Regions from separate parts of the Homo sapiens genome. Here all the other regions are linked to region 3. Evidence: promoter capture Hi-C in 16 types of primary human blood cells and fetal thymus (Javierre and others, 2016). All regions are on one chromosome and are shown on one strand. The core of a region is centred on a gene start or on the middle of the fragment in contact, and the rest is flanking DNA. Distances in the headings are between cores, read along the strand shown. Region 1 overlaps PARD3 (par-3 family cell polarity regulator). Region 2 overlaps PARD3 (par-3 family cell polarity regulator). Region 3 holds the start of NRP1 (neuropilin 1). Region 4 overlaps PARD3 (par-3 family cell polarity regulator).

Region 1 (7,100 bases), core at 866-3,365, 830 kb before region 3:
TAATGTGCAAAAGCAAGATGCAGAGCAGAGAAGATTCTGTACTCTACATTTGAGAGCTCTTTATTTGTCAACAAGGCAGCAGATATTTCTAGGTAGCGTTGGTGCAATCCAGTATAGAAAGTGGATTTGTTGGTATTACACATAATTAGGAAGCAGGAACATCAGTAATTACTGTGAGAGGATTTTGTATGGCATAATTAATGCCCTCAAACTATTTAGAAATTCTTAGATGAAAGAAAATACAGAAGTGGGAATTTTGGTGTTGAAAAGACAAAGGCAAACTGTGTTGGAAATATGTTACCAAACATCATGTTTTATGAGCACAGATTGGCAAAACATCAGGACACAGCTGTTGATTATAGCTGCTCTTTTCAGTAACTGCCTCAGAGCCAATGAATCCTTCGCGGGGAGGGCCTGTCAGGACATATCAGAGTGCAGCTCCTCGCCCTCCCAATGACTTACCAAATCACACGCCTGCCCTAGAGAGACCCACCAGTGTCTTAGGAAGTATTGGCTAAATGGAACCACATAGCAATGTGTGGCCTTGGATATTTAACATCAAAATCATGCTTTGGCAAGACATGTTGGCATCACTCATCAACAGGCTCTCAGTTCTCTGGATTAAAGGCAAAAAATAAAATAATCAAAGTCACTTTAAAATTAGTGACATGTTTTATACTAAGATAATTTTGCAGAAAAACTGCCATTTTAAATCAAAGTACGCAGCAAGGGAGTGATCTACTAGGCTTTCATATCAAATATAAAACTACCACTAAATAACTGTTTCTGAAACTTCATGTGTAGTTTATCATATATTAAATTATTAACATTTCTGTTGGAGGAGGTATTTTTCATAAAATATTTAAGCTTCACATCTCAGAACACTATTTCAACAACAGATACCAAAGCTATAAAATGAATGTTACAGTTCTATCAAATATTCAGCCTTTTCATTAAGGAAAAAAAGAAGAAAAGAAAAAAACCATATTAAGCCATTACTATGACACGACCTTTGCTCAAAAAAAAACTCATGTTTCAACATAACCCTCTTGCACCCCTGGGAACATGAAGGCCAGAGGTCACCCTTTTTTTTGTTCATGGTAGTCCATGATTTGGGGACATAGGGTCAGTGGATATTTCAATTAGTATCAAGAGTTAATTATTGTATCAGAGGACACAAATGAGAAGCTATCAAAATAATTTAATTAGAAAACAAATTAGAAATTAAATACATCTTATAAAATGACCTTCCATTCCTAGGGCAGAGACACGTTCAAGCGTAAACAAGTTATTCTGGCTGAAGTTGATAGAATAAGCTTAGCATATATCAAAGAAAAAACTACCCTTAAGCAAAACGTTTTTCTATTTTATTCGGTTCTGCTTTCCATATGCGTTCTCATATTTTTTTCATTTCAGATGTTCTTCCTTACATATACCTAAATATTACCTTTTGCCATTTTCTACTGCTAACCACAGAAGTAACTTCAGGACTTGAGGGTTTTGGGGGCTTTGGGGTGTTTTTTTTTTAATGTTTCATATTTCTTCAGAGAAGGAAAAAGTCTTGTCATTTATGGAGCACCTTTTCACGAAAACCACGCAGTGCTGTTCCTAGTGTAGACCATTAAAGTGAAAAAGCATTACTGGCAGACTAATTGTGTATGGTGTAGCATGCAGTCTATCACAGTAACCCATCACACACCAAAATGCACATGCCGGCAGACCCGTGCAACGATGGTTGATGTTCACAGTGACCCTGAGGTGTTCTGTGTAATTTTGAGCTAAGGATACTTTATTATAGTCAAACTTTTTGGAGGTAAGGTCTATATGAATACTTATTAGTGAACAGCATATAGTTGGTCATTGTGGGTAAGTGGGAGATTTCCTTGACAGGTTATTCCCTCAGACACACAGACCCAGGCCCGTAAGCGGCAGATTTAGACAGCAGAAAATCCAAGCTCGACGCTGCAGCAGGCGTAACTCTTTAGTGGTACAGCAGGTTTACATCATTACTGCCCAGACAAATTGGTCATGCGTCTTTAATTTGTTCTCACAAATCACTCCCTTCACTAGTGTGATAGTTTTGTTTTGCAAATAGTGACTCTAACAGAGTGTATAGTTTCAGATAGAATATTTGGCATGTTGATGCTGAATCATGCCAGCCACCTTTCCTTAAGGAGAAATGGAGGAAAAAACACACCTTACAACAATCTTTAAGGTTCTCGTTTAGTTGGTGTTCTTAAAAAAGAAGTATTTAAGGAGAATTATAGGTTGGCTATTGTGTGTGTTGTGGGGGTGCTTGCTTGGTGTTTTGTGAGTGGACACTCATCCTGGAAGAAGGAAGGGGCATCGGGCAGTCCCAGCCAGGGTACATGGGTGTAGAGTCCTTTCTGAACTCTTTTTTTTTTTAGACAGGATCTTACTCTGTTACCCAGGCTGGAGTGAAGCGGCATGGTCATGGTTCACTGTAGGCTCAAATTCCTGGACTCAAGCAATTCCGCCTGCCTGCCCCCGCCTTAGCCTCCTGAGTAGTTGGGACTATAGGCTCACCACCATCCCCCAGCTAATTAAAAAATATATATTTTTTGTAGAGACAGGATCTCACTGTGTTACCCAGGCTAGTCTTGAACTCCTGGCGTCAAGCAGTCTTCTTGCCTTGGCTTCCCATAGAGCTGGGATTACAAGTGTGAGCCACCTCGCCCAGGCCTGAGCTTTTTTTAATGCACGTGAGATTTCTGGTGTTTGCTTATGTCAGGGTCAAATGGAACTTTGCCTTGAGACTCAGAGAAAGAATTAACATCCATCAAGACTTAAGAAAGCATAGTCCATGCTTTGGAACACACCAAGCTCTATTGCTAAATTTAATTTTGTTTTCTAATTAATTTTTTTCCAATAGAACAACTTTTTCAAAGCTTCATATTTTATCAGCAATAAAGTACTTCATATCTGTAAGTCCAACTCAGTGAATCTGAGGGAAGGTTTAGGGAAAGAAAGAAACAAGTGACTGATTTTAAAAACAGAATAGCGATAGCATTAACCGATAAAGGGATAATAGAAATAGAGGAAGGTTAGTGAGAAATATAGCTCTTTCTTGTATATGTATATTTCAAAATGTTGTCAACATATTCAGGTGAAACACTTACCAGGTGATTAGAATAATGGTTGTGTTTTTTAGATGAGGTAGATTTCACTGCATGAAAATGACCATTGATATGGGATATACCAGCCAATGAATGAGAACGGAACAAACAAAGAGATGTAAAAGATGAGCAGTAATTTGGGTTGCTCCTCAACAAACATGGAAAATTAACGTTTTAGTCAACAAAGGAGAGCCAGCAGGGTCAAGTTCTGCAAGAAATGTGAAGACCAAAAACAGGCCACTCACTCTATTAAGCTGTTAGAACATCATTTGAGAATGCAGTGGGAGCTTAAGGCCAAATTGTTGGGTGTTGAGAAGGCAGAGAGGGGTGGCACTGGCTCTGTGCATTAGCCTTGTGCAAGAACAAAGCGGTTTTTCCTCTTGGGGCACGAGGACATTTGTCTCCCAGTGGCACCTTGCAAAATGCTAGACATTGAGGAAAATTCCAGTAAACACATGGTTCTGGCTCTTAAAATTTCGAAGTGTCCTGATTTTAATATAAGAATGTTCTGGCATGCTAGAGATAGTGATGGCAGGCCACAGTAAAATTTCTAATATCCTCCACATTCAAAAGGGAAGTGAAGAAGCTGGCCAGCTCAGCAGACACTACTGAAGGGATGGATGTGAGACTCCACGTAAGTTAAAATTGAGATCAGTTCAGCTCAGAAAAGAGAAAACTGGGTGAGACCTAGTTCATATTCTCAGAGGTGCAAAGGGTTTTATAAGGATGAGTCTGACAAGTTTTCCCCGTTTCTCCAGAGACCCAAATAAAGAGAAATTAGTTGAAATTAAAGGAACCTTTTTTTTTTAGTCTGTATCTTAGAAGATAATGAAATGTTAGGGTGGTCTTCTAACAGGGGCCACAAAGAATCTTTAAGAGAAAAAAAGGAGAGTCTAGTATCAATCAACGTTAAATTATCTTACATGCAGTTGGCTGAAGTGACAGGTCATGGCCAGGTGATTTCTTGAGAACCTTTTCAGTAAATGACTTGATTACTATTATGAATACATTTAGTCAGTGCGCTTCAGAAATGCTATTGCTTGTTTTCGCTCATCCCCAAAATGACTATGGAAATAATTGTATATGTGTGTATGTGTGTGCGTCCAGCTAGGAGGGAAACTACAAGTAGTACTTTCTGATTTTTGAAAAAAGAACAACTTTACATACAATTCAGTTTTACATTGTTTCTGCACAGGAAAACTGCATGTCGTCTTCTGCTGTAACTATAAAACACATCCACAAAAGTTGTCACTGGAATTTGCTTAAATGTTTCTCAAAGCAGAAAAAGAAATGACTGGTCTCTGGTTCATTCAGACGCCTGCTTATGATCACAATTCTGTTGTCTTACGTTGTCATATTCTGCTGAGAATAGTTCAACAAATACTACTCTTAGTTGAAAGCTTTAGAATTTTCCTTTCTGGAATATTTACAGATGTGACAAAATATATTTGTTATAAATGTATTCTTATCATATCAAATGACCTGAAATTTGCCATTTTTGATTAATTCCTGGAGATTACAAGAATGATGAGGGCAGTTGCATTCAGAAGTTGCATACAGTTGCCCTTTGCAGAAGTACATGGTGCACATGCTTCAGTGTATTTAATGATGTTAACAGTTCATTGATTAAAGTTCACCTTGGAAATAAACAAACTTTCCTATTCATCTTTCAAAGTTGTTACAAAAACAGAAGCAGGTTTTTTTTATGGCCAATTCTTCCTTTTCTTCCTTAGTTGGTGGCTCTTTGTTTTGAATTCCCATAGTAGCTGTTTATTTTTCCGCTTTGCACAATGTCTGTATTAGTGATTTACTACTCGCTGTCTTTCACAAGACCTATGAGCGTGGTGGTTTAATTAACCATATTTTGTGCATGTTTACTCTTGACATTAAGAAAATAATAATAATTGCTTAAACTAACAAATGGAATATGAATCCAGTTGAGTTACTTTGCTCCTTGTTACCTCATTCCCTCAGGTGTTTATTGCTCTTGTAGCCATTTGATGTGAATAACAAGAATTCATTATTTCAGAGTATTAATGTTACTCATTGGACTCCTTCCTTCTTCCAGTAGATCCTTGCTGTAAAACATCCTGGATTCTCATTCTTCTGCCTGAGCAGTTCCCCCGTAACGGTGCGTGAGCAGATCACATCTCTCTGACAGAAGGGTTTGCAAACTATGCCCACAGACCAGATCCCCAGGGCTATTTGTTTATGCATTTCCTGTGACCACTTTTGCAGTATGATGGCAGAGTTGAGTAGTTGCAACAGACTGACCCACAAGGCCAAAAATATTTATTATTAGGGCCTTTATAGAAAAAGTTTGCTAGTGGTTCCCAGTTCCGCTGTAAAGGATTTTGTCCCTGTTTCTTTCTAGTGTGATCTCCACTCTTCTCTCTTTTTCCGTGGTTGAGTGTTCTGTGTCCCAGCCAAACCGACATTCCTTTCTATTTAACTACAACATTTTGCCTGTGCTATCTTTTCATCTCATGCCCTTTCTTCATCTTTTCAAATTCTGCTTCTCTTTTAAGAACCAGCATATATGCCACCTCACCCAAGAAGCCTTATCTGGTTCCTCCAGCTTGGATGGCTCTAATCTTAGTCTAATTGTTTTCTCCCACGCCTTGTGGGTGTGTCCTCCCCCCCACCGGCTGTGGAGTGGCCGGGAACACAAGCCTCCTCCCCAAGACTTAACTTCCTAGGTGAATACGCAACTCCCTCCCAGGAGTGGTGGCCACTCTAAGTCCTACCAAGGGTATTGGACTGAAACGCCATTGTCTTTCATGTAGTGATGACAAGTCATTTGTTTCTAAAGTCAAAAATAATTACCTAGTGTAATTAGGTAATTATTTATTTTTTATGTAATTATGTAATGTAATAATCTACCTATATGTATAGAGCATTCACTCAGAACCCTACTTGCTGATTTTTGAACCATGTCCAGCCCTGAAATTATGTGGTTTCAGATTCCCGTGTGGTGGTGGCATCTATCTGGGCAGCTCCTCCAGGAGTTGAGGGAGTGGGTCTGAATTCTCACAGTCCTGTTGGAAGTGTGTGGCCAGGCTGGTTCCTTTAACTGCCCATTAGAGTACACTTTCCTTCCTTGTGGGGCCCTTCTAGCCTATCAGGTCAAATTTTTGTGGAGTTTCCTTACTAGTCATTTCCATTTAGTTCACAAAATCAGAATTCAGGTGAATGTAGCAAGCTTAGCTCAATCAAGTTACACTCTCTTCTTCTCTTTCCCAGCACATAACACAATTCTAGTTGATTTATTACTAGCACAGTTGTTCTGTAAGGGCAGGAAGCATACTCTTCTAGTGATCACTTTATGCATAACACATAGCATAGTAGGCACTGCCAAAATGCATATAATAACACGAATATGTGTATATACATACTCACATGTGTATGTGACACAGGATTTTTTAAACTCCTTCACTCAGCTAGTTCCAGGTTCTTGTCTCACGACCACGAAAAATTAGGCATGCGGACATCGAAGAGTGAGTGGAATAGAATTTATTAAACAAAAAGGAAAGCTCTCAGCAAAAAGAGGGATCCTGAAAGCAGGTTGCCAGTTGCCCCCCTTAACAGTTGAATACGAGGGCTTCTATATATCCAAGCTGATGGCGCTGGGTTCCCTGTTTGTATAAGGTTTGAATTCCTGGTGGCTCCACCCCTTCCCCCCAGTGTGCATATGGTCCCTTAGTCTGCTCTGGGCGTGTTCAGGCAAACTCCCTGTGCAGGTTGCCTTATCTGCACAAAACATGTGGTATAAATACTTGGGGGGTGGGTCGGAGATTCTTCAGGGACCCTTCCCTATCTGCCTAGGAGAGTTCTCTGCCTCCTGCCTCTATCATATGTACATATATGTCATGCATTTCCAACTACAATGACTATGTTTCATTCATATTTGTATTTCCTGTAGGCATAACACTAATATTACTGACAAAGCTGGTCCCACCCAAA
Region 2 (7,816 bases), core at 3,826-6,325, 860 kb before region 3:
GGTAATGGTTAAGGAGCTTGGCCTCATTTTCATAGCTAGCGAGTGGCAAGATTTTCAGGTTTGCAGTGATACACTCTGTCCTGTGCTATTTGATGTCATCACATACCTCTTCCTAAAATTTGGATTGGGATGTTTGTGCCCATCCACATGACTCTAAATACATGTTTTCAGTGTTGCCTCTATGTCACCTTCTGTCCCTTCTCATTCTTCTCGGAACATGTGATGCCTTATATTCTTAGTTATGTAAACATCTTGTCTCTTAAACTGGAGCTGATTTCTTGAGGATGGAGAATGTGTTTCCTGTCCAATACATAAGCACTCCAGAAGTGTTTGCCTTTGATGTGTTTCTTTTGATTATGTCTGTTTAAAGGATTTTTCTCTGATAAGCACCTAGCATGTTACTGTGTGTTGTCAGTTACTACTCGTTTTAGTACGTGTGTGTGTGTGTGTATTTGTAGCAGGCGTTCTGTGCATGTGCATTGTATTCATTATATGCACAGAATGCCAGTTCTAAGTGCCAGGCACTACTTGAACAACAAAGAAAAGAGTAGACACTTTGCTCAGTGTGGTGAAGAAAATCCCCTGTCAGCCCTGAGGATCCTATTACAAGTCTGAAAGTGGGCATACAAAAATAATTAAGTTTGTCTTGAAGTTAGGATTAGAAAAGATGAATATTTATTAAAGAAAGCATAAACATTGGATTAATTGTGTTCAACTTTTTGCAACTTATTTTGCAGCTACTCCGTTAATTATTGATTGCAGTTTTCCTTAAGAGACATTGTTTGGCATATTTATTTGTGAAGTAAAGCAATTTGGATTCTCCTATTAATTTTACATAGAGAAATTACGTTGGTATATCTTGAGATAGGAAGGTACAAAATCAGGACAGGCTTATTCTGCCAGGCCCAATGTGGCACATCTGTTTTATAAGTAAACAGAAGTTGAAATTTTATCTTAGATAAAGTTCATCAAATTTTACTTTTGCTAATACATGTAATCACCTCAGCTATATAGTTTAAGTATTCAATGACAGTAAACTAGTAAGTATTCTTAATAAACTATAAACTGTTAAGTATTTAACTATAACTATCTAAGAAACTCTTAAGTATTTTTAAGCATGGAGATTGATCCCCTTCAGGGACTATGAATAATAACTTACACATTTCATCTTCAGTCCATCTCCCCATTATCCACCTAACACTGCCTTGAACATGGAGGGGAAAAAAAAGTGTTAATTTAAGAAAAAAAAAAAAAAAAAAAAGCTTTGGCATATTCCAGGGTATTCATAGTGATGTCTTGAGTTATTTTACGAAACAGTTCCAACTGATTTCCAGAAACCACAGTTGATGCATAAATTCCCTAATTTGTTTACTTTAGAGAGATCATCTCAAGTGCAGCATCTGTTTTTTGCTTTCTCTGTGCGATCTTGGTTTTACATCAGGAGGAGTGAGGCACAGGGACGTACAAGAGCGGCTCGGGCCACACAGGCAGCTCCTGAACCTGCTGTGTGCTGTGTCAGGAGCTTTCTGAAACAGTGGTGGGTGTGCCTCCTGTTACTGCTCTGGGTGGGCAACTTCCACGTCTGCCTTTTCAACTGTTTCTCAAGGATAAACTCCATCTGCCAGATAACATTATTTTACAACTAGAAGAATGTCACAACTCAAATTTTGCTTAGTATGTCTTATTTTGGAGAAGCAGCTTTCTTCTGTGAAGCTCAGAGCAGTAACCTAAAATTACTCTCAATATGTAGAGGGAGAGCCTTCTGGAAGTGCAGTGGTTATTTATGAAGCTTGGGTGGGGGAGCTCCCTGCCATGTTCCAGTGAAATCGGAGAGATAAAATTTTAATGTTGGAGGCTTTTCTACCATTTTGCTTCTTCTGCAGTCCTTGCAGAAGCAGCTGCTATAGGAAATCTATTTCCAGAGCCCTGTCCAAGCCCATGCCCAGGGTCACAGGAGGAGGAGCACCCCGTAGTTTGTGATGTTAGTAGAAAATTCAGGGCATTGAAAACCAGGAAAGTATCAACAGCCTCCATCTCTGAAAAATAGCCAACTGAATTTTCTCTCATAAAGGGTGGCCCACGCTGGTCCTCCAGCTTCACTTAGAGCTCTTGTAAAGATGGGCAGGAATTATTGTGAATATAAATTCGAGCTGAAGAGAAGAGAGGGAAGTGCAGAAAATCCAATTAACTGAAGCGAAAGTCATACAGAATAAACTACCCATTGCTAAAAGAAATAGGTTTTAAATTGAATGAATCTTTAGAGCAGAATTGATCAAATATGTCCTTATTGTATGAGAAGATGCACTTTGCAAATAATATTTGTCGGGAGGCATCATCTGCTTGAGGATGTTTCATCTTCTTGGTAAGAAGGCCGTTAGAAGTTTGGAGCCTTTTTCATCATTGTTATTAACTTGCAGGGGAAAATCTTCCTATTCCAATATTCATTAAATGGATCTCTTTGTGTATACAAATAGTAAAAGTAGTTTTGAAAGTACTATAGGTAAGCAAGGGGAAAAAATGCACTGTTTGTTTCTTCATAGAACTGACATTTTTATTTAGGGAAAAATCCATGAATTTACAATCTCTCCCTTTCTAGGTTTTTCAACATTTCTTGCAAATTGTATGTAAATGAATGCAAATAAGCAATCCTCACTAGCAAGCTGCTTAGAAGTGTAAAATGCATAAAATTAAGATACTGAGAGAAACGTGCATCTAATTAAGGTAGCATGTAAAGAAATGTTTAAATTCAAATTAGATACTTCAGTGGAAAGAATTTACTTGTTTAATTCAAAAGGTGTTTTGTATAATTCTGAGAAGCTTGTCCTTAGCAGTACTTCCATTTCCTTCAAAGCTCCAAAAATCAGTTTTAGGAGCTTGCCCTGGTTCAGTTAAACTTTAAAATTGGGTTTAAGCTAAGAATTGGAATGTCATAAAAATACGTTCTAGTTTTAATGCCTTTACCTCAAAAACAGACTTAGAGAGGCGGGCATGATAATTTGAGAGTGAGAGTGGGTGGATGTGTGGATCACTATTTCTATCCCATTCATAGAAATGGCACGTGGTACTTGGATTTCATGGGTTCTTAGAAAGCCTGGAGATAACACAGATCACAGGCATCTAGTTATCCCTGGATCTTAAGAACATTCTAGGAGCAAGACAGGAAGGATGCCGGCCTGTGCCATCAACAGCCCCTCCACACTCTGACGTCCAGGAGGTCACCTTTACTCTTTGGGGCCATGTGAGTCCAGTCCAACCTCCAGCTGTGCCAGGGACAGAAGAGGAGGAGAGGAATTTGGTCTCAGTTTAGAAGCCTATTGTTTAAGTAGATGAAAATTTTTTTTACGAAGCATTAAGCAACAAGCAAAGTACTGAAGAAATATAAGATCTGTGTGGAGAAGACAGAAACTGTCTTCTAAGGTTGGTGCTGTTTCTGTCTCAGACACAAGAACCAAAAGGGCAGATAGAAAAACAAGCAGGGCTGGGGACGGTGGCTCACGCCTGTAATCCCAGCACTTTGGGAGGCCAAGGTGGGAGGGTCTCTTGAACCCAGGAGTTTGAGATCAGCCTGGGCAACATGGCAAAACCCTGTCTCTACCCAAAACAAAACAAAAACAAACAAACAAAACCCACAAACAAGAATTAGCTGGGCATGGTGACATATGCCTGTAGTCCCAACTACTCAGGAGGCTAAGGTGGGAGGATCACTTGAGCCCAGGAGGCAGAGGTTGCAATGAGCCGGGCACTCCAGCCAGGGTGACAGAGCCAGACCCTGTCTCAAAAAGGAAAAAAAAAAAACAAGCAGGAAAGTGGTTTTTGCTAGTTTTCAGAATGCCTGATTTTGAAGTGTTCCACTGACCTCCACTTCTTTTAGTGAGAGTTCTTGCTTTCTACCAGATGGCATATTCCTCCAATTTCAGCTGAGCCCGTGTTTTAGCCTGTAAGCCTATAGTCTCTATTTGCTGGCCTCACAGAGGAGAAATCATTCATTAAGTTTTGATCATGTGCAGTGTACAAATTCTCTCTTAGACTCAGGTTCCCTAATCTGAAGTTCCTGTCTGTGTCTGAGCTGGGGAATTAGAAAATGACGCTGAGACTGTTGTTCTTCACTGGGGAGTTGGATCTGCTCTGTCTCTTCAGCGGGGCCAGGAATCCTTCTGAATCAATGCCAGACTTCTTTCATCCTCCCTCCCCCTAGGCTCCCAGACCCCATCTTCACCCCCACCCCCACCCCCAAGGCTGAAGCACAGACCAAACCATGCAGGACTGTGAATTGAAAAGCATCTTCTGGCTGGTGACATCTGTTTCCAAATATCCAGCAAGTCTACTTAGGTTTAATCAGAAGGGTCACAGTTGGTGTTTCCTCCTTGGGCCAGGAGATTTTTCTCCTATGGGACTTGGGCCTGATGCCTTCCAGTCAATTAGAGCTCCTCTCCCTCTTTGATTCGTTGATACTTTCAGTGGCTGCCTCTCAGCCAGTGACTGGTTGGGTTAGTGATTCCTCTACTTATAGCACAGACTACATCTAGCTGCCCACTTCCTGGATACCCCACATTCACCATAGTCGACATATTCCAAAATCAGCTCTATAACTTTCCTCTATAGTGGCTTATTCTCCGCTCTAAATCTCTCCTGGTTAATGATGCCATTATCAGCCCTCTTCTCCTTGCAAATTGCCAATGCTATCACTAGGCCATTTTTATTTCTTACCTGAGTTTATGCAGTAGCCTCCTAGCTGCTCTCCCATCTCATCACACACTTCCTCACTCCTTTCTCCACACCGTTGATGAAACAGCTTTTTCTTAAAACACAAATCTCACATAACATTTCCTGATTAAAGCCTTTCTGATGCTCCCTTGTTAAGTTTTTTCCTGTCTTAAGGGGTCTGGGCTCTATCTAACATTGCACTCATATGTCTCCTCTCCTCCCCGCATTCCACACACCAGCCTAGTTGAACTACAGGACCCGCGAGATGCCATGCTGCCATTTATATTTTTGTGCCTTTGCATATGCTGTTTTCTCTGCTCCTCCCCACCGGCATCCTCCAAGTTGGCCTGGAAAACTCCTACTCACTTTCCTACTCCTCAGAGAGTTTTTTCTTTTCTCACCCTCCCAGGCTGAATTTGTCACGCTCTCTTTTGTTGCATTCCCGGCCTCTGGTTACAGCATTTATCATGCAGTACACTGAAGAGTTGTTTCCTGGTGTATCTCCCATTTAGGCCATGGGCTCCCAAGGGCAGAAATTGTGTTGGGTGAGAAGGTGCCCAGAGATAAGACTACGGCAGTGTTTCTCAAACTTTGTGGCCCCAGGATCCCTTTACACTCTTAAAAACTGTTGAGAACCTCAAAGGGCATTTAGTTTATTATTTGGGTAAATATCTGTTGATATTTCCCACTGAAATGTAAACTGGGAAATTTAAAAATCATTTATTCCTTCAAAATGAACAATAATGAACTTATTAAGTATTATTATAAAATACATTTTATATAAATAACTGTGCAGAATAAAAAATTGTAAGACCAGTGGCATTGTCTTAGATTTTTAGAAATTTCTTTGTGTCTGGCTTATGAAGGGAAGACAACAAGATCCTCCTATTTGCTCCTTTAGTCAGTCTGATTCATTGTGTTGTTTAATGTCTGTGAAGACAATACAATCTAATTGCAGATATTTTTCTGGATCAAAACTTGACAAGTGGTAGTTTCTTACTAGTTATTGTAATGTGAAACCTAAAACCTTAGGGAACTTTTCTTACAGCTACCTTAAAACCGCTCATCTCTCTTGCACCTCCAATAGCCCTTTTGCCCATGAATGTTTTACTTATACCATGCATTGGTCACTTGGAAAATGTGAGACCACTGAGTTATGCAAATCCTCCAACAGATGGTACACTCTGTCATACAATAAAAAAAGATAACAGAAATCTTAATTATGCAACCATCAAAGTCATGATGGTAGACAGAAGTTTTCCAAAGTTCTGATTTTCACTTGAAAGCTCAAATTTTATCATTGGCAACAAATACTGTCAGTGGTTTTCCTCAAAGGGATAGGCTCATTTTGCTCATTTTCAAGAAAATGGCTTTTTAAATGCCTAAGTCTGAATAACAGGTTTTTGTCAGTTGTCCTTTTTTGGGAAAAGTGGTGTTCTGTGAAGCAGGTGGCTAGTTCAGCTCACAACTCAATTGCACAGGTGCTTTTCCTTGAGACAAACATCATACTTCAGTAGGTCATGGAAACATGTACTTGCCTTCTCATAACAGACTATTTAAAAGATACTTACTCAGGATCAGGATTTACCAAATTAATACTTACTGCCTCATCCAGGGCATGCCTAAGTGATGCTGGCATTGATTTTCCTTCAAGTGCTCAGAGGGGCAAATGCAGTGACCACTAGTATCGTTTGGTGACACTGGCTGCCTTGATCTGTGCCAAGTTGCCAGCTGTTTTGCCCCCTCCCCTATGGCGTTTGCACCACCAACAAAGTGTTAACCCCATAAAGAAGGAAAGAAATGTCTTAGCAGCATTTTTAAAATTTATTTTTATTTTTGTAATGTAGAGTCTTGCTCTGTTACCCAGGCTGCAGTGCAGTGGCACTGTTATGGCTCACTGCATCCTCCAGCTCCTGGGCTCAAGGGCTCCTCCCCTCACCTCAGCCTCACAAGTAGCTGGGGACCATGCCCAGGTTATTTATTATTTTTATTTTTATTTTTGTAGAGACAGGGTCTTTCTATGTTGCCCAGGCTTGTCTTGAGCTCTTGGCCTCAGGCAACCCTCCCACCTCAGCCTCCCAAAGCACTGAGATTACAGGCATGAACCATGGCTCCCAGCCAAGAAATGTCTTAGTATTTTTATCAAATACTTTTGACCTCGTAAAACCTCTGGAAGGATCTTGTAGACCCCTAGGAGTCCATAGACCACACTTTGGGAGCCATGGGACTGACTGGAGTGAAGCAGAGGCCCCTCATACCAGGTTGCAGAGTCCATGCTGTGTTGGGAAGGGTGTGGGGGGAGAAGTGCTGTGGTCAGATTTGTTTCTTGGAATGACCATGGTGGCAAGAGAGTGGAGCAGTGGAGCATCTTCTGGGGAGTTGGAAAATTGGAACTGAACATCATTGCTGGAAAAAAAAAAAGCGATTTTAAGTTGCCATATGAATATAGGATGATTATGTAAGCCCCAAATTCTTCAACCCTTTGGAGTGATGTTTTCATTCCAAATCACATTCAAGTGTGTGAAACTAGGTTGAAGTATTTTCTGGTATTATTTCAGAATAGTATTATTTCTATTCTGTGAATGAATTTGGGTGTGTGTGCACATGTGTCGGTGTACGTAAAGCTTGTATGTGCATGTACCGTTGGCTGGTGGGTATCCTGGGCAATTCTTTTCTGGCCCAGGTTGTCTTTGTGTTTTGTCATCAGAAGTGCATTCCTTAGACTCTGCATGTTATCCTGGATCATAAGTAAAAAACGTTTGTTTACCCTAAAGACCTCCCACTCAGTGGAAGCGTGGGAGACACATTCCTGAGTTAAAAAGGTCTAGATCAATATAATATTCAGAAGTAATTGCAAGTGATTCTAACCAACCCAGCAGTGCTTACTTAGGACTGTGTTCAAGAGCCTCCTTGCCTCTTTGTTGATCTCTTTAAATACCAAACAAAAGACAATGAATCTTCCAACTCAGGCGATTCCATTGTGATTGATCTGAGCCAATTTTTTGAGGTAATTGATGATATTGCCTTAGTTGAGTCTGTTAGTGCAAATAATTATTAATCAATATGCTCTCAGCTCTTAGTTCAGAAGATAATTCTAACACATGATTTATGC
Region 3 (7,304 bases), core at 1,701-4,200:
TCACTTATTCTCGTATAGAGCCGGCCTGTCTCCACGCTGGGGAATTGCAAAAATCTAAAACTGACCCCTCTCACCACTTAGTGGAATCCAACAGCAAAGGAAAAAGGTTGTTAGCAAGGACAATTTGCTCTGTACCAACCCACTGGCCGGCAATTCTCAATCAGTGCGGTAGGGCTCCATTACCCAGCACTGTGAGTGGAAACTAAGGAGTCTAGAAAAACCTTAGATCAGCTAAGAGCAGAGAAATCAGAGGCAGAACTTAAATATGACATTTCCTTCTGAGTCCATAGTGCATCCCTTATTCACTGGTTGGAGAAAGCTGGCAAAAGCGCTCAGCTGGAGGCAGGCGTTTTCTGTGCGTTGAGGCGCCGGAGGAGCCATTCCCTTCGGGAAAGACAAGGTCGGGGTGGGGGCAGTCGCTCCGGAGTGCACGATCCGGTGGCTTTATTTGCTGGCCTGGCGGGTCTAGGCTGGAAAATGCACACTCAGCAGGGAAAGGGGAAGAGAGATTGGCGGCAGTTTTCTAAAAACAACACAGCTCAAGTCTCCCTCGTGTGCCCCCTCGCTCACCCCGCCGAGGCTCAGAGCTATCCAAACGGGCGCTCCGGAGCGAGCGCGGAGGTCGGGTCCCCCCAGGACGCAGGCGGGCCTCCGAGACTCCAGGCCGCCCCGGCCGCCGCTCCCTCCCGGTTCCCCTTCCCTGTCAACCTGCCAGGTCCTGAGAGGCGCCTCTCCCTCCGAGCCTGGACCGAGGTCGCTCCGGGTCACCCTAAATCTGATGATGCCGCTCGCCCGGCGCAGCCGGGGGCTGGGACTGGCGGGGCTGCACCTGGGGAGGCGGCGACCGCGCGCGGGTAGTAGCCGAGAGCCCAGGCTGCCTCTGCGGCGCTCACTCCCCCGGGGTCTGCGCTGGGCGCGGTCGGCGCCCCCGCCTCGCCTCCCGCCTGCCCGCCTGCCCGGGCGCAGGGCTGCCCATGGCTTCGACAGTGCTCCTTCCGCTCAACTTAGGCATTTAACTCCCAGCCCTTCGGTGCCCACTTCCCACCCCGCGCCTCCCAGGGGTCCGACAGCTGAGAAGAAGGAGGAAACTGGCAGAGGAAAGAGGCGCTCGGGGGGGCCGAGTTTCCAACTTGGCGACTGGGAATCCCGAGGCGCGTGGGGAGGAGAAGACAGGCTTGACCCGGGGCAAGAGAGTGGCGAGTGCGGGCTCCGTGGGTGCACCTCCCACTGGCCCGGGAACGGCCTGCACCCCGAGGGGCGCACGTCACTGCTCCCAGCCCGAGTCGCGAGCGCGCAGTCCTGGCCTGGGGCCCGCGCGCCTTGGGCTTTCTCCCTGCCCGCCCCTTTTTCTTCCGCCAAAACCTTTGACCAGAGTCTCCTTGCCAGCATTCCTACCTCCCTTTGGCCAGCTATTTGTGCCAGGTAGGAATCAGGCTGTACTTTGGCTGTGTGTGTAGACGCCAATCCCCAGGAGGCGTGTGACCTTTTCACCTTACCCACAAACTCCCTGGGAGGTGCCCCGTGGGCACTGACCCTTCTCCGGGGCCTGATCGGTGACCGCAACCTGTTTCTTCCCAGAAATGTCCTTGCTTTTCGCATCTACAAACGCTTCCTGCAGCACTTCTCGGAAAACCCTCGGGGACGGGCCTGGGGGGCATCCAGCGGGCTGGGGGCACGAGCCGCTGTGGGAAGTGGGGGTGGCAGGAGCTCCAGGGCCGGCGTGCACGTTGTCTGTGGCCGGGAGCGGACACTGAGAGGGCGCAGCGAAGAGCACCCCTCCCCCGCCACTCTTTCCCTCCCTCGGGATGCACAGAGAAACGGGGGCCGCCCGACCCCTGATTTCCACACCCCTCCCTAGCACCTGGGCTCCCAGACAAGGTTGGGCGGGGTCGGGCGGCGATTGCCCCCCTGCTTGGAAGGCGCAGCACCTCCCACCCTCCGGTGTTCCCTCTGCCCCAGAGGAACGGGCACCAAATCTCGGGAAACAATGAAGCCTCCGCGGCGCGCAGAGGGCACCCAGCCGCGCGCCCTGATGCGGGCCAGGGAGGCCGCGTGGGGCTGCAGCCCGGCCTCGCCCGCCCAGGCGGTCTGTCTTCGCTTCACACCACAGCGACACTGCTGCCCCTCGCCCGGCTTCGCGGTGCGGCTCCCACTCCAGCCCGGCTTTCCCCTCCTCGCCCTCCAGCTCTGGGCAGGGGCGTCCAGGGGTGCCCCGCTGCTCCCCGCCACAGGTCTCAGGATGGCGCGATGAGGAGTGGCAGGGGGTGACCCTGCGTTCCTCGCCGCCGAGGGCGCGGGCCCCGGGATTTGAAGTTGCGAGAAGCAGCCGCCACCTCCCGGGCGCTCCGCACTGCGCGGCGGCGGGATCTGCGCCTGCAGGAGCTGCCCAGCTCTCCCTCTAGGGGTGCAGAGCGAGCACGCGAGGTGGGCTGGCCAGACCCTGCGGCTGGCACTGACCTCCGCGCCCCTTCCTCCGACGCCCGCACCCACGCGACCGGGGCGCAGACTCCCAGCGCCTTCCTTCCCGCGGAGATCCCTGCAGGGTCTCTGGGAAAGACAGACAGACGGACGGGGAGAGCACTCGGAGGGAAAGTTGTTCCTCCCAGTCTCCTGTCAGGCAATTACAGGCGAGCCCAAGCGGGGAGAGGGGCGGGAGGAAGCGAGGGAAGGGCTCCGGAGTGGGGGGAGGCCGCAGGAGGGGAGGCGGGGGTGCAGTTGGTGAAACTCCTCTGTCTCCCGCTCATCTTTTCATTGCTCGTTCCCCTCCTTCCCGCAGACACCCGGACCTCCCCTGGGCGCCAGCTCCGCGGCTCCAACGGGTCCAGAAACAAGCCGGATTTTTTTTTTTTCTTCCTGGAAATTGGCTTTGGTGTGTGTTGCCCTACCTCCCTCCTCCCCCTCCCACCCACAGCCCCCCCCCGGCCTTTTTTTTTTTTTTTTTTTTTTTTGAGACATGGCCCGGGCAGTGGCTCCTGGAAGAGGAACAAGTGTGGGAAAAGGGAGAGGAAGCCGGAGCTAAATGACAGGATGCAGGCGACTTGAGACACAAAAAGAGAAGCGTTCCTCTCGGATCCAGGCATTGCCTCGCTGCTTTCTTTTCTCCAAGACGGGCTGAGGATTGTACAGCTCTAGGCGGAGTTGGGGCTCTTCGGATCGCTTAGATTCTCCTCTTTGCTGCATTTCCCCCCACGTCCTCGTTCTCCCGCGTCTGCCTGCGGACCCGGAGAAGGGAGAATGGAGAGGGGGCTGCCGCTCCTCTGCGCCGTGCTCGCCCTCGTCCTCGCCCCGGCCGGCGCTTTTCGCAACGGTAAGTGACAGGCAGAGGCGCGGGTGACAGCGGCGCCCCGGCTCCCAGCTGCCCGCCCCGGACCGGGGCTCAGGCGGGGCTTCCCGGGATCAGCCGGGAACAACCGACTCCCGGGCGAAGGAAACTTTTATCTGGGAGGAGAGAAGAAGAAATGAGATCAGGCGGTTTAGAGCAGGAGGATTTCAGGTCTTTGGGCTCCCTCCTGACGTTGATCCTTGGGCTGTGGGGCTTTTCCTTACCTCTGTTACAAGACAGAGCTGTCTACCTTCCCAGATCAGCATGCCAATTATCTTAATAATGTTTCCTCCCAAAGGCAATTAGAAGAGACTCCCTTTCAAAAATCTGATGGCTGTTGAAAGTTAATGAACACTTTACCAGGAGATCTTACTTCCTGGTTCCTTTGCTGCTCCCCTAAGCCGTTTCCTCTGGTGGGTGACGGCCAGAGATATCGGTTTGTGGGTTGATGAAACTCCCTCCCCCGCCTTTGTACACCTTCCGTAATCTGTCTGGAGTATGACTGAAAGTTACATAGTATCAATACAGGAATCTGACATATACAGTGTAAGGCACCAGGATATCTGAAAATCCCTAAGCTAGTTGCAGCTTCCACTTAGCTTTTAAAATCACTCACTGTTAAGTAAATGAAAAACTATACTGGGGTCTAAACAGTACCATGTAACCTAAATAATGTGTTTTAAAATGGGATCTGGTTGTAGGCATGTTTGACTTCACACTGTAAAGTAAGTGCAGGCAAGGGTATGCAATTATCTTTACAGTAAGTCGTCAGCAATTGTTATTAACTAATGATCAAATATTTACTTTTGTCTGGCTTAGATTTCAATCACAGTAATTAGAAGAAAAGAACATCCACTACTTACTGTGGTATATTGTTTTAATAAGAGACCGCAAGTGGAGGGCCTCATACCAACAGGAATTTAAATCACATCTTTATGATGGAAGTTAATCTCTCTAATATGCTTTTTCAAGGTTTTGTGATTTTAGCAATGGATTTCCCTCAGCAGCTACCAAGCAGTATTTTAAGAGATGCTTAAAGCAAAACACATGCAAAAAAAAAAATTATGAACATGGAATTCAGCTTATTAATGAGCCCAAGTTGATGGCATTTTTCTATAATCTGGCAGGAAAGCAAGACACAAAAAATTATGAATGTAGAATTCAATTTATTAATGAACCTGAGCTGGTAGCATCTTTCTATACTCTGGCAGGGAATGAAATAGCATTCTCGTCCAACTGAAAGAGCTCAAATGGTTGGACTAGAAATTATAGTAACCCTGTCCTCCACAACTCTTGAGACTAAATCCATAGTGGGGGTGTTCACAAGATAGATTTGAAGCTCAATGCAAAGAGCTATCAGACTTTAGGTTGTGAACTACACAAATATATATGCAGTACACACACACACACACACACTTCTTAGTTTTCTTAGCAGAAATCTGGGGAATGCTGAAAATCTGGCTTTAGTTGTTGAGCTTTACCAGCAAAAGCCATGTCGCTATGCTTGAAGTGACCAGAGCCAGAAAATGCCTCTGTAACTCAGCAGACCTCTCAAAGCCATGTCCACCTCCTCTGAGTAACCAGTGTCTGCTAAATTAATTCATTAACCTTATTTAGGACTAATGGTCCAGAGTCATTAGAAACTGCTCTTTCTTAATCAACTGCTAGAGAGATTGAACAGAGCCAGGGAGTCTAGCAGTCCACATTATCTTATTACACTGTCACTTTCTCAGAAGTCACAGATTAAAGAGCTCTGGTGTGGTACCAAGTCCACCTAAATGTCTTCTGAAGTGACTCTGTCGAGTGACTAGAACCAGTGCTGTTTTATTTCACTCCTGTAACAGATGCCAGACACTACCATGATGTTTGTCCAGAGCTAGAGGAAACTTAATGAGACGAGGTCACTTTCCAAGTTTTCTGCACATTCAAAATAATGCAAGAGTCTCAGCAGAATCACATAACAGAGTCCAACATGATCATTAGCTGAGATTTTGAACTCCAGTTGCAACATCATTTCTTCCTGGCAAAGCTTACACTTTTACAAGCCAGTGCAAAGGAAACCAGCATAAGACTACCCCCAGTCTAAGGAACAAAGTCAGAAGCACCTAGCGATTGAGAAAAACAATATAACTTATATTGTCTTCTTTTTTTAATTTATGGGAAATGATTTCTGTAATGCATGTAGCTTTATGCATTTTTGATGTGCACTTCATCTTTCATTTCCATTTGACCTGGTTTTCCTGTAATAAAATTCTGTAGATTTATAAATTCATGCTGAGAGCAAAGAATGCCATTCTCTTTCCACAGGGAATCTATTAGATGCAGTGTTAAAATCTACATCTACCATTACTGAAAATTTGTGATTGATAGGCTTATATATTTCACTGTTTTCATACCGTTTCTCTTATATAGTTTATGCACCGAATTTTTATTGCTCAAAATTAAGCATCAATAAATGTGGCAGCATTTCAGGCTGAGGTGCTCCAGTATGAAATCCATCATAAAATGTGACAATGAGAATCTATGCTGAACAATATAGGCAGCCCAGAGACTGGTTTACTTGGTTTATTTGGCTTCACTTGAGCATTTTTGAAATGAAGGCTCAAAACTACTTAGCTCACCTTTCCCAGAATGTGAGAATGTGGGTTACCATATGTGATACCCAGACCTGTGTGGTGGGTTATTTTTCACCCAACATTTAGGTAATTAGAATTAATGCCATGTGGCTATTTACTTTTCCTTCTGCCCCGTTGCTTTGATCCGATCTCCAAGCTTGAACAACTTTACTTGGAGAAGTAAAGCAGAATTATTTCTGCTTCACCAAATATACTTTGTTCTCTGTTGATTTGGATCTCAAGAGCAGAGATAACTCAAAATCACTTAGATTTATGGGCAGATAAAACAACAACAACAAAAGGTTTGGCTTTAAGCCAATCAAAGACAATCCCCACTGATCAATGACATAGACCAGGCTTATCATCAAAAAACAACACAAGGGGTCGAACAGCATCTTTCAGTCACTTTCCACTTAGAACTTGCTACTTAATGTGATTACACTTCTTGGGGGATAATTAAGTCTAGCAGAAGCTCCCAGGGGACCATGTTAACATCAATTGAGGGGATTTAATGTTTTTAATGCTAGAAGACCTTTTCCTTAGGAAGAAACTTCGGGGCTGGGGGGAAGAGTCCTCTCAGATCTCAGTTGGCTTTCTGCCTGAGTCAACCTTCCTGAGATCAAAGAGTGTTTTTTCCTGGAGTGTTGCACTCAGAGCCACACGAAGGACTTACGGGGACCTTTTAGAGTTCCCCTTAAAAAGTTAAGGAATGTTTAATAACCAGTAATTTACATATAAAGCTAGATTACCTAACAGGTTGTCAGGAAAGATCTGCTAAAATCTTACTTTCATTGCAGATAAATGTGGCGATACTATAAAAATTGAAAGCCCCGGGTACCTTACATCTCCTGGTTATCCTCATTCTTATCACCCAAGTGAAAAATGCGAATGGCTGATTCAGGCTCCGGACCCATACCAGAGAATTATGATCAACTTCAACCCTCACTTCGATTTGGAGGACAGAGACTGCAAGTAAGTGGGAATGTTTTTGAACAGGGCACCACAGCACCATCTAGTGGTCACGCCTGTCTACGGGGGGGAAGTCGGTGTGTACAATGTAGATTATAAATGGATCCAGGAGGGATTCCAATCTCAGCCAGATTATATGTCAATGGTATGGAAATTGAAGTACGTTAAGTGATTTCTGAGTTCCCCAAACCAGGAAGATTATAGTTAAATGTGTAAGCTCTTATACTCCTTCCTGTTAGCACTTTTGGTTTGGGAACTCTTGTTAAGAAATGTATACAGTATGTATGTTTCTTTTTTCTTTCTTTTTTTTTTTTTCCTGGAGAGGGGAAGAACTAGAAACTCAAAAATCTCACTTGTATTTTTACGAAATACAGTGGATCACTAATATACATCGCATC
Region 4 (7,588 bases), core at 617-3,116, 790 kb before region 3:
GAAAATGTTTGAAAAAATCTTGTACATTTGGAAACTCAACTACTGAAGGTCATGGACCACATTATTATATATCAAAATGCCATAGCAACTTCAGACAGACAACTTGGCTTGTATTAGCATTTCCGGTAATGAGTGAGCAGGGAATTATTTGGATGACAGGCTGATTACCTTAGAAATGGAATCATTTCCTAAATTATGGGTCACAAGTTGACCTTTTCTTTTTTTTTTTTTTTTCATTTTCAAGAAACTGAGATCTTGCTCTATTTTACTGATCATGTAAATGAGCTTAAAGTGACTGGAATTCTACTTAGTGTATTAATTTTCATACCAATTCTTATGGTTACCTTAGGAAGAGCTGCTCAGTTGTTTAAAATGTAGCTTGGTCTATGGTTTTAATTATCTGTTTTACAAAATGAGCTTTTTGCATCTTGGAATCCTTCTCTTCTCTTATGTATTCTGACCTTGAAGGGTCACTGTATTTGGAAGGGATGGGACCATGATCTCATTCTTTGGAATGGTTTGTAATCATTTTAGTTTTAAGGAACCACAAACTCACCTTCAAGCTGTGTGTACAACTGAGCCCATATTAGTTGAAATTGTCATGCTTGTTAGAAATGCCCACACACAAAGTGCAGCCAGATGTGTCACAGAGAAAAATATGTAAGCCAATTACTTTACATACAGAGCAGGATGCTGCGGAAAATTCATCCAAGTAGCCCTTTCAATCTACCTATTTTGAAAATGTTCTCTATAAGCTCTAGCAGTACAGAATGCACCTGTTCCTGGGCCTTTGTTCAAAATAATGTCTGGGCCTGAGGGAGCTGATTTGTGGCACAAAAGGTCTTTAGATGAGCAGAGGCCCAGAAAATTTCCTTAGCTCCATAATTGAAGTGAATTCTCTCCCAAGTTGAGCAAGAGAAGAAGAAAAGGCAACTTCTTCCTCACGTAGTGCCAGGTGCAACATAAATAAAGCAGCAAGTTGCTTTAAATCTTTCTTAAGATAATGGAACAATAGGTGAGGTTAGGGTTATTATCACAGAGCTTCGATATGGACAGGACTTAGTGTTGCTTTTAAAAGAACTAAATTGCAGGCTGCAGACGTAAGTACAGTATGCCGTAAAAACTTTGCAGATACCTGAGTGTTGCCAACAAGGAGACTTGCTGGCTGAGACGACTGATAGATGGGATAATGGAGCCTTTAATAATAGCTGTATTGCTAAATCCTTTCCATCCCAGGTTGGGAGTGACTGAAAGTAGTTTAGTCCTTCAGGTAGAAAATTGATACTCTGCAATGTGAATATCCTCTTCTCCCTCAAGCTTGCTTGTTTCCTAGCTGTCCGTCATTCAATGAATAACAAAATCTGTCCTTTTCTCCCTTTTCCTGTTTCAGACTTTAATAGCTCTCCCTGCCCTCTTAGGGCTCTGCCTGCTTTAATTGGCAAGGCAGTCATAGCACACAGCCACTCTGTACCACTAGATTGCCTCCCTGTGCCTGGGCAATTTCAGAAAATGGTGGTTTTCCTTTCGTTTCCATCTTTTTTAAGACTTAAAAAGTATCTGCTCTCATTTTCTCCTAGCGGCCTCCATGCCTTGACTCAAAAAATGCTGCCTTAGTTGACAGCCTTGAAATGAGTATGACCCTAGCTCTAGTTGGGTGGAAATCACCTCGCATAGAAATAGACCTGGAGGGCCGGGCACGGTGGCTCACTCCTATAATCCCAGCACTTTGGGAGGCCCAGGTGGGTGGATCCCGAGGTCAGGAGTTCAAGACCAGCCTGGCCAACATGGTGAAACCCCGTCTCTACTAAAAATACAAAAATTAGCCGGGCGTGGTGGCAGGTGCCTGTAATCCCAGCTACTCAGGAGGCTGAGGCAGGAGAATCACTTGAACCCAGGAGGCTAAGGTGGCAGTGAGCCAAGATCACGCCATTGCACTCTAACTTGGCGACAAGAGCAAGACTCCGTCTCAAAAAAAAAAAAAGAAAGAAATAGACCTGGAGATAAGCCATCTGCAGAGAGGTGCCCATCACACATGGAGAGAGCCTCTGTACTGTCGCAAAGTCAGCACTTTATTCTGCCCTGTGACCTGTCCCTCAGCCAAAGGCTCTGTGACTCATGGCCATGCTATGCTCAGAAGCCCTGTGTGGTAGGAACTCCTGAAGCTACCTTGGGTTGCCATTAGCCCAGATACTAAAGTGCCTGGCTTGTTTTGTAGAGCAACCTTTTTATTTTCAGTGTTCCTATTGCTTAAGATGGGGGCGGGGATAAAAGATCTAAGCACTGGTGTGAAAGATGAGGTGAAGACAAATACAATTAAGACCAAAACATTCATTTCTAAAAACTTCATGAGGGAAACGGGTGTGCTTTGCAGTCTTTTCAGCCATTACTCACATCCTTAGGAGCAATTAAGCTTTTCAACATTCAAGACCCACAAGAGTTCAGTCAATAGTTACATAATTATGGCATGTGTGGGTGGGTGCGGAAGGCTGGGAAGGCACGATGGGTAGACAAAAGTTAACGTTGTTTTGATTAAAGGTTGTACATAAGTCTACTGAAGAAAATAATTACCAATATTAGCACTGGCCACTTTTCAACAGAGTCAACAGTTGACACTCTTCACATGATTTAATGGCATAAAAATGATTTCTGCTCCCTACCAAATCTTTAAATTGCTACTCTTATCAGAATATGGAATTCCTATTAGGGTCACAGCTCATGTGAATTGCTAAAGTAAGGATTGTGAATCTCAAGGGAATGCCATTAGTCTTTTTGTCATCAGCATCATTCTCACCATCATCTTCATCACAGGTTTTCATCCAAAGTGCCTGAATGTTTTGTATTTTACTTTTTGTTTTCTATATGTGCCCTTGGACATACAAAATTTTGCAGATTTTTATCATTCATAATTTAAGGAGAAAATCTGCTCAAAGTGATCCTTTATAAAAATATTACATATGTGTGTGGATATATATATACACGTGCACACCCACACATACTTACACACTATTTTCCTTATCTATAAGAAGAAAAGTGATAGATTATTTGAAATTATTGAATATTCTATGTATATGTTAATATAACAATGATTTTATTTCATAAGTGGCAGCACACTCGCATATTAAGCTGTCAAAGTCTTACAGTATTACCTAGTTCTAATTAGTACTGAAACTTTGTACTGTGGATATTCATGTTTGTTCTTTACTCTGTTAACTGTCTATTAAATATTTCGTTTTGTATTTTCATTTTTTTCTATTTTTATTTTGAAGCAATGATTTTATTTAATTAAGAGAAATGCTTAAAGACTTAATTCATAAAACACCGTATGAGACCATTACAAGCATGTAATCTCCAGCACTTTGGGAGGCAAAGGTGGGAGGATCACTTGAGAGCAGGAGTTCAAGACCAGCCTGGGCAACACAGCAAGACCCTGCCTCTACAAAAATTAAAAAGAAAAAAAAAATTAACCAGGCATGGTGGTGCATACCTGTAGTCCTGGCTACTGAGGACAGCTTGAGCCCAGGAGTTTGAGGCTGCAGTGAGCTGTAATTGTGCCACTGTACTCCAGCCTTGGCAACAGAGCAAGATTCTGACTCTAAAATAAAAACAAAATGTTTAAAAAAAAAACTGTGGAAAATATTTTTTTATATTTTACCCTACTAAATGATACCAACATTGTATAGCTTCCTCAAGCTTGAATTATTATCCCTTTATAATCTATGAGAAAGACAAGTACTTTGTAGTCCACTTACAAAAAAAAATACATATTTTTCACTTGTGGTTTTAAACATAGGCCATGAAGAGATTTACATATCATGGCTCTCCAGCATCCTGTGTAATATATACTCGTGTGTTTATTTCCATCTTACAATCTCTATTGTTATTATGGCTCTGGCAGCCATGTTTTTTTTTTATTTAAAAGGTCATTGCTTGTAACCAATTTCATCACAGGGTTATTTGTAATTTGCACTGTTAGAACAGAGCTTCGCCTTGTTCTCTGGTGAATCTCCAGAGTTATTACAGTTATGCCTGCGCAGGTATTTCCCTATGTGGGTGTTACTTTGTCGCTGCAGTTGTTGATGATATTTTATTTGAAAACATACACTTCTCTGTGAGGTTACAAATTACCTCTTTTCTTCACTTTATTTTTGTGCTTGGACTCAGATACATTATTTTGTTCATGCCATAGGGATTGAAGCCACAGTGTGTAAAATTCCAGATTGCCATTGTAATACTGTTCATCCAGTTTTTGTTTTTAAGAGGTCTTCATTTAAATTGTGAATTAGAGGGGTGATTTTTATTCAGGTCAAGTGTCAAACTTGCCGGGATGAACTTATTTAGTTGTTGCTCTGGGCTGGTCATGTATGCAATCTTCCTTGAAATATGTGACCTGTTAGAGGGTTTTATCTTAAAGGTAAGAGTGATTCTGTTTAGTAACCCACCCTTTTGCAAGTTCTAAAAAGAGAAATGGAGTAAACTATTAATGGTGAAGCCAATGTTTATGTTTCTTCCTGGTGAGCATGATAGTATGAAATATGTCAGTTTGCTGATCCCAAACTCATTCACTCCTTTTAAGTTTTCAGACCCCATATGCTGATAATGTCATCATTGGAATGTATCCAGATCCAACTAGATACTTGTAGCTGATAAAGTTTGAGGCGAACAGTGTCAGAAAACACACAGCAGAGAAAACAAGTCCTTCAACTTCTTTTTTCTCTGTCAGAAGCAAATTTTCAGGCCTATGGGAGAAACAACTTAAAAATACACCTGAAATTTCTACAAGACCTTGCAATTTCCCTTCACATCTCCACAAGCAGCTTGTCACAGAACAGCACGAGCTTAAAAAGCTGGTTACTAAATCCTGCTGCAGAATGCCAGATCTTTCAAGACTGTTTGACACATGCATATAGTTTACACTGAGTGAAAAGGAAAGGAAAATGTGGTTCTTTTGAGGGTGTAAAGGAAATGGTGTAGTGTTTTCTTTCTGTCCAGTGGTTTATCTCAAGCTTCCCATTGCTCACCGTGACAAGAAAACAGCTCAGTTTCCTTTTTGGCCAGCCTCATCAAGTGTAATGGAAGAAAATGTCTGTCTCTTTTAATGCAGTTGATGAACAATTGTTTGCATAAGCAGAACTCGCTCAGCGAAGTGTTTTTCTTGCTGAAGGCCTCACTGATGTGTTATTTGAACGGTGTTGTGAAGCGGGTCTCTGAATACACATTTGTTCCAGTGAGTGTGGTTATAAAGCCCCTAGTAGAGACTGGGGTATTGTAAAGCCTAATCTCCTCACACATTATTTTTGTATCGGGATATTTTTAATATGCTCACTAACTAAGCCCATATGCTTTGAAATGTTTGTCCTGTATATTGCTTCATTACTGCTTATCAACAAGTAAGGTTGTGCTGGCTTTGCAGAAAGAGAACAATAGATGATGCTTGATTTCTTTCTGTGCTGGCCAAAGCCAACCATAGGAGCCATTCTTTTGGTAACAAGGCTACCTGTTATCTTACAGCTCGCCAAATGAATGTTCAGACTCTGTTGTTTTAGAAAATCATTATCAGGGCAAAGTCTACCATTAGCTTTCAACTCTAAAAGAAAATCAATAACTTGTTTCAAACAGACATTCCTCACTCAGACTATGCCTGTTGCACAACGTTGCATAACAGAGGGGGAACTGAGGGTGGCGAGTACTGAAAAGGATCACTTAAGGGGCCTACTGCTGATGCTGTGACAAACCATTGGGATGTTTCATAAATGTAGAGGCACCATTGTATATTTTGAGCACAGCTACTTTTATTTCAAAAGGCCAGATCTAGAAGGTAAGGTAACCATTGTCAGTGAGAAATTGAAGCATCCCAGAAACCTGATCTATACCATGCGGTATACACGTTCAGTAATCTGATTTCGGTGAGAAGCACCAATCACCAGATGACTTGCTGACCAAAGTATGTTTTTTCTTTTCTTTCTTTTCGTTTTTCCTTTTTTTTTTTTCTTTTTTTGAGACAGGGTCTTGCACCATCACCCAGGCTGGAGTGCAATGGCACGGTCATGGCTTACTGCAGCCTCAATCTCCTAGGCTCAAGCGGTCCTCCTGTCTCAGCTTCCCAAGTAGCTGGGATCACAGACATGTGCCACTGCACCTGACTAATTTTTAAAATTTTTTTGTGGAGACAGGGTCTCACTGTGGTGCCCAGGCTGGTCTTGAACTCCTGAAATGGAGTGCTAACCAAAGTATTTAGTTAGAAGGATTGAAGTGTTCTCTATAGGGGATGATTAACTTAGGTAAATTGCCATTTCCTAATAACTAAGGTAAAATGCATTACCTAATAACCAATTTAAGTAGCGAGTAGCTTTTGGGTTTGTTCTTTTGATAGGCATTTCTGTTCCCTGTTTGGCTGCCATCTGTGGATTGCAGGAGACCTGTTGGTACCTAGTTTAAACTAATCTTGGCTTAAAATTTCACTGTCATCCTGTACTAGAAAGGGAATCAGCTATACTGTATCCTGCTGTAAAACTAAAATATATACCTACCCCCCAAAATTCATCAACATGGCCACCTCACAGGTGTGCACTCCTGGACTTTCCCTCTTTTGAGAGTTGTAGCAAATTTTTATTTATTTATTTATTTTTGGCATTAACATCTTCTAGTTTTTGGAAGAGCCTCATTCTTATTGTATCTGCTCTGTGTATTCTGGAGAGAGGTAAATGGTGTCTTATGTCAGCATTTACCAAGCCTCATTATAAAGACTAGACGCTGGGTTTAGTGGCTTACACCTGTAATCTCAGCACTTTGGGAGGCTGAGGCAGGATTGCTTGAGGCCAGGACAACATAGGGAAACCCCATCTCTACCAAAAAAAAAAAAAAAAAAAAAATTAGCCAGGCATGGTGGCCTGTGCTTGTAATCCCGGTTACTCGGGAGACTGAGGTGGGAGGATCACTTGAACCCAGGAGTTCAAGGCTGCAGTGAGCCATGATTGCACTACTGCACTCCTGCTTGGGTGACAGAGTGAGATCCCATCTCTAAAAAAAAAAAAAAAAAAAAAAAAAAAAATTAAAGAAGACTAGAAAGTTTGATCTCTTCAATTTAAACCACATGCCAAAGCCAAAATCACAGTTTAAGAAAATTGAGTGTTTATGGGCTCATAAGAGCAAATATATGTATGCCACTTTTCTCAAAGAAACGATTTTGAAAAACAAATCACAGAATTTTCAAAATTTTCAAAGTCAATTCATAAGAATCGAAATGGAGTCAACCAGTTGTGTGATCTGTACAGAACTTTCTGGTTAACGATGTGCTTGTATTTTCCTCTTCCAGCCGAACGCACGGCCGGCGACGCAGAGCGGGCGACACTCGGTGTCCGTGGAGGTGCAGATGCAGCGGCAGCGGCAGGAGGAGCGCGAGAGCTCCCAGCAGGCCCAGCGCCAGTACAGCTCTCTGCCTCGGTATGAGGACGCTTGGCCGAGCCTCCAGATCCCCCCGGCCCTTTAAGATCCCCCGCCCTTTAGGAACGCGCTCCTTCCCAAGTCACTGGGGCCTCTCCAGCTTGCCCCTGGTAGCAACAGAGGAACCAATAAATGTCCCGTGGCTACT

What was found. Contacts are between HindIII fragments. The CHiCAGO score rates a contact against its expected background, and 5 or more counts as called.
Region 1: a contact is called between a fragment that was not itself captured here and the fragment with the promoter of NRP1 in region 3, in 1 of 17 cell types (monocytes). The highest score is 5.1, in monocytes.
Region 2: a fragment that was not itself captured here is called in contact with the fragment with the promoter of NRP1 in region 3 in 1 of 17 cell types (monocytes); the score reaches 5.6 in monocytes.
Region 4: a contact is called between a fragment that was not itself captured here and the fragment with the promoter of NRP1 in region 3, in 1 of 17 cell types (endothelial precursors). The highest score is 5.4, in endothelial precursors.

What each region holds. Positions count from the first base shown.
Region 1 is chr10:34,161,934-34,169,033 of GRCh38, reverse strand. All of the region lies in intron 22 of PARD3 (par-3 family cell polarity regulator), which reads left to right. Among named protein-coding and RNA genes, the nearest start is that of LINC02629, 260 kb to the right of the region's middle. The HindIII fragment of the contact is 1,593 bases long and covers 1,319-2,911 here.
Region 2 is chr10:34,188,058-34,195,873 of GRCh38, reverse strand. The region is part of intron 22 of PARD3 (par-3 family cell polarity regulator); the gene reads left to right. Among named protein-coding and RNA genes, the nearest start is that of LINC02629, 290 kb to the right of the region's middle. The HindIII fragment of the contact is 4,511 bases long and covers 2,820-7,330 here.
Region 3 is chr10:33,330,313-33,337,616 of GRCh38, reverse strand. NRP1 (neuropilin 1) reads left to right here and starts at 2,950. Exons shown (of 17, transcript NM_003873.7): 1 at 2,950-3,307; 2 at 6,735-6,909. The coding sequence starts at 3,235. The HindIII fragment of the contact is 8,759 bases long and covers 1-5,353 here.
Region 4 is chr10:34,119,465-34,127,052 of GRCh38, reverse strand. PARD3 (par-3 family cell polarity regulator) reads left to right here. Exons shown (of 25, transcript NM_001184785.2): 24 at 7,313-7,440. Among named protein-coding and RNA genes, the nearest start is that of LINC02629, 220 kb to the right of the region's middle. The HindIII fragment of the contact is 1,093 bases long and covers 1,320-2,412 here.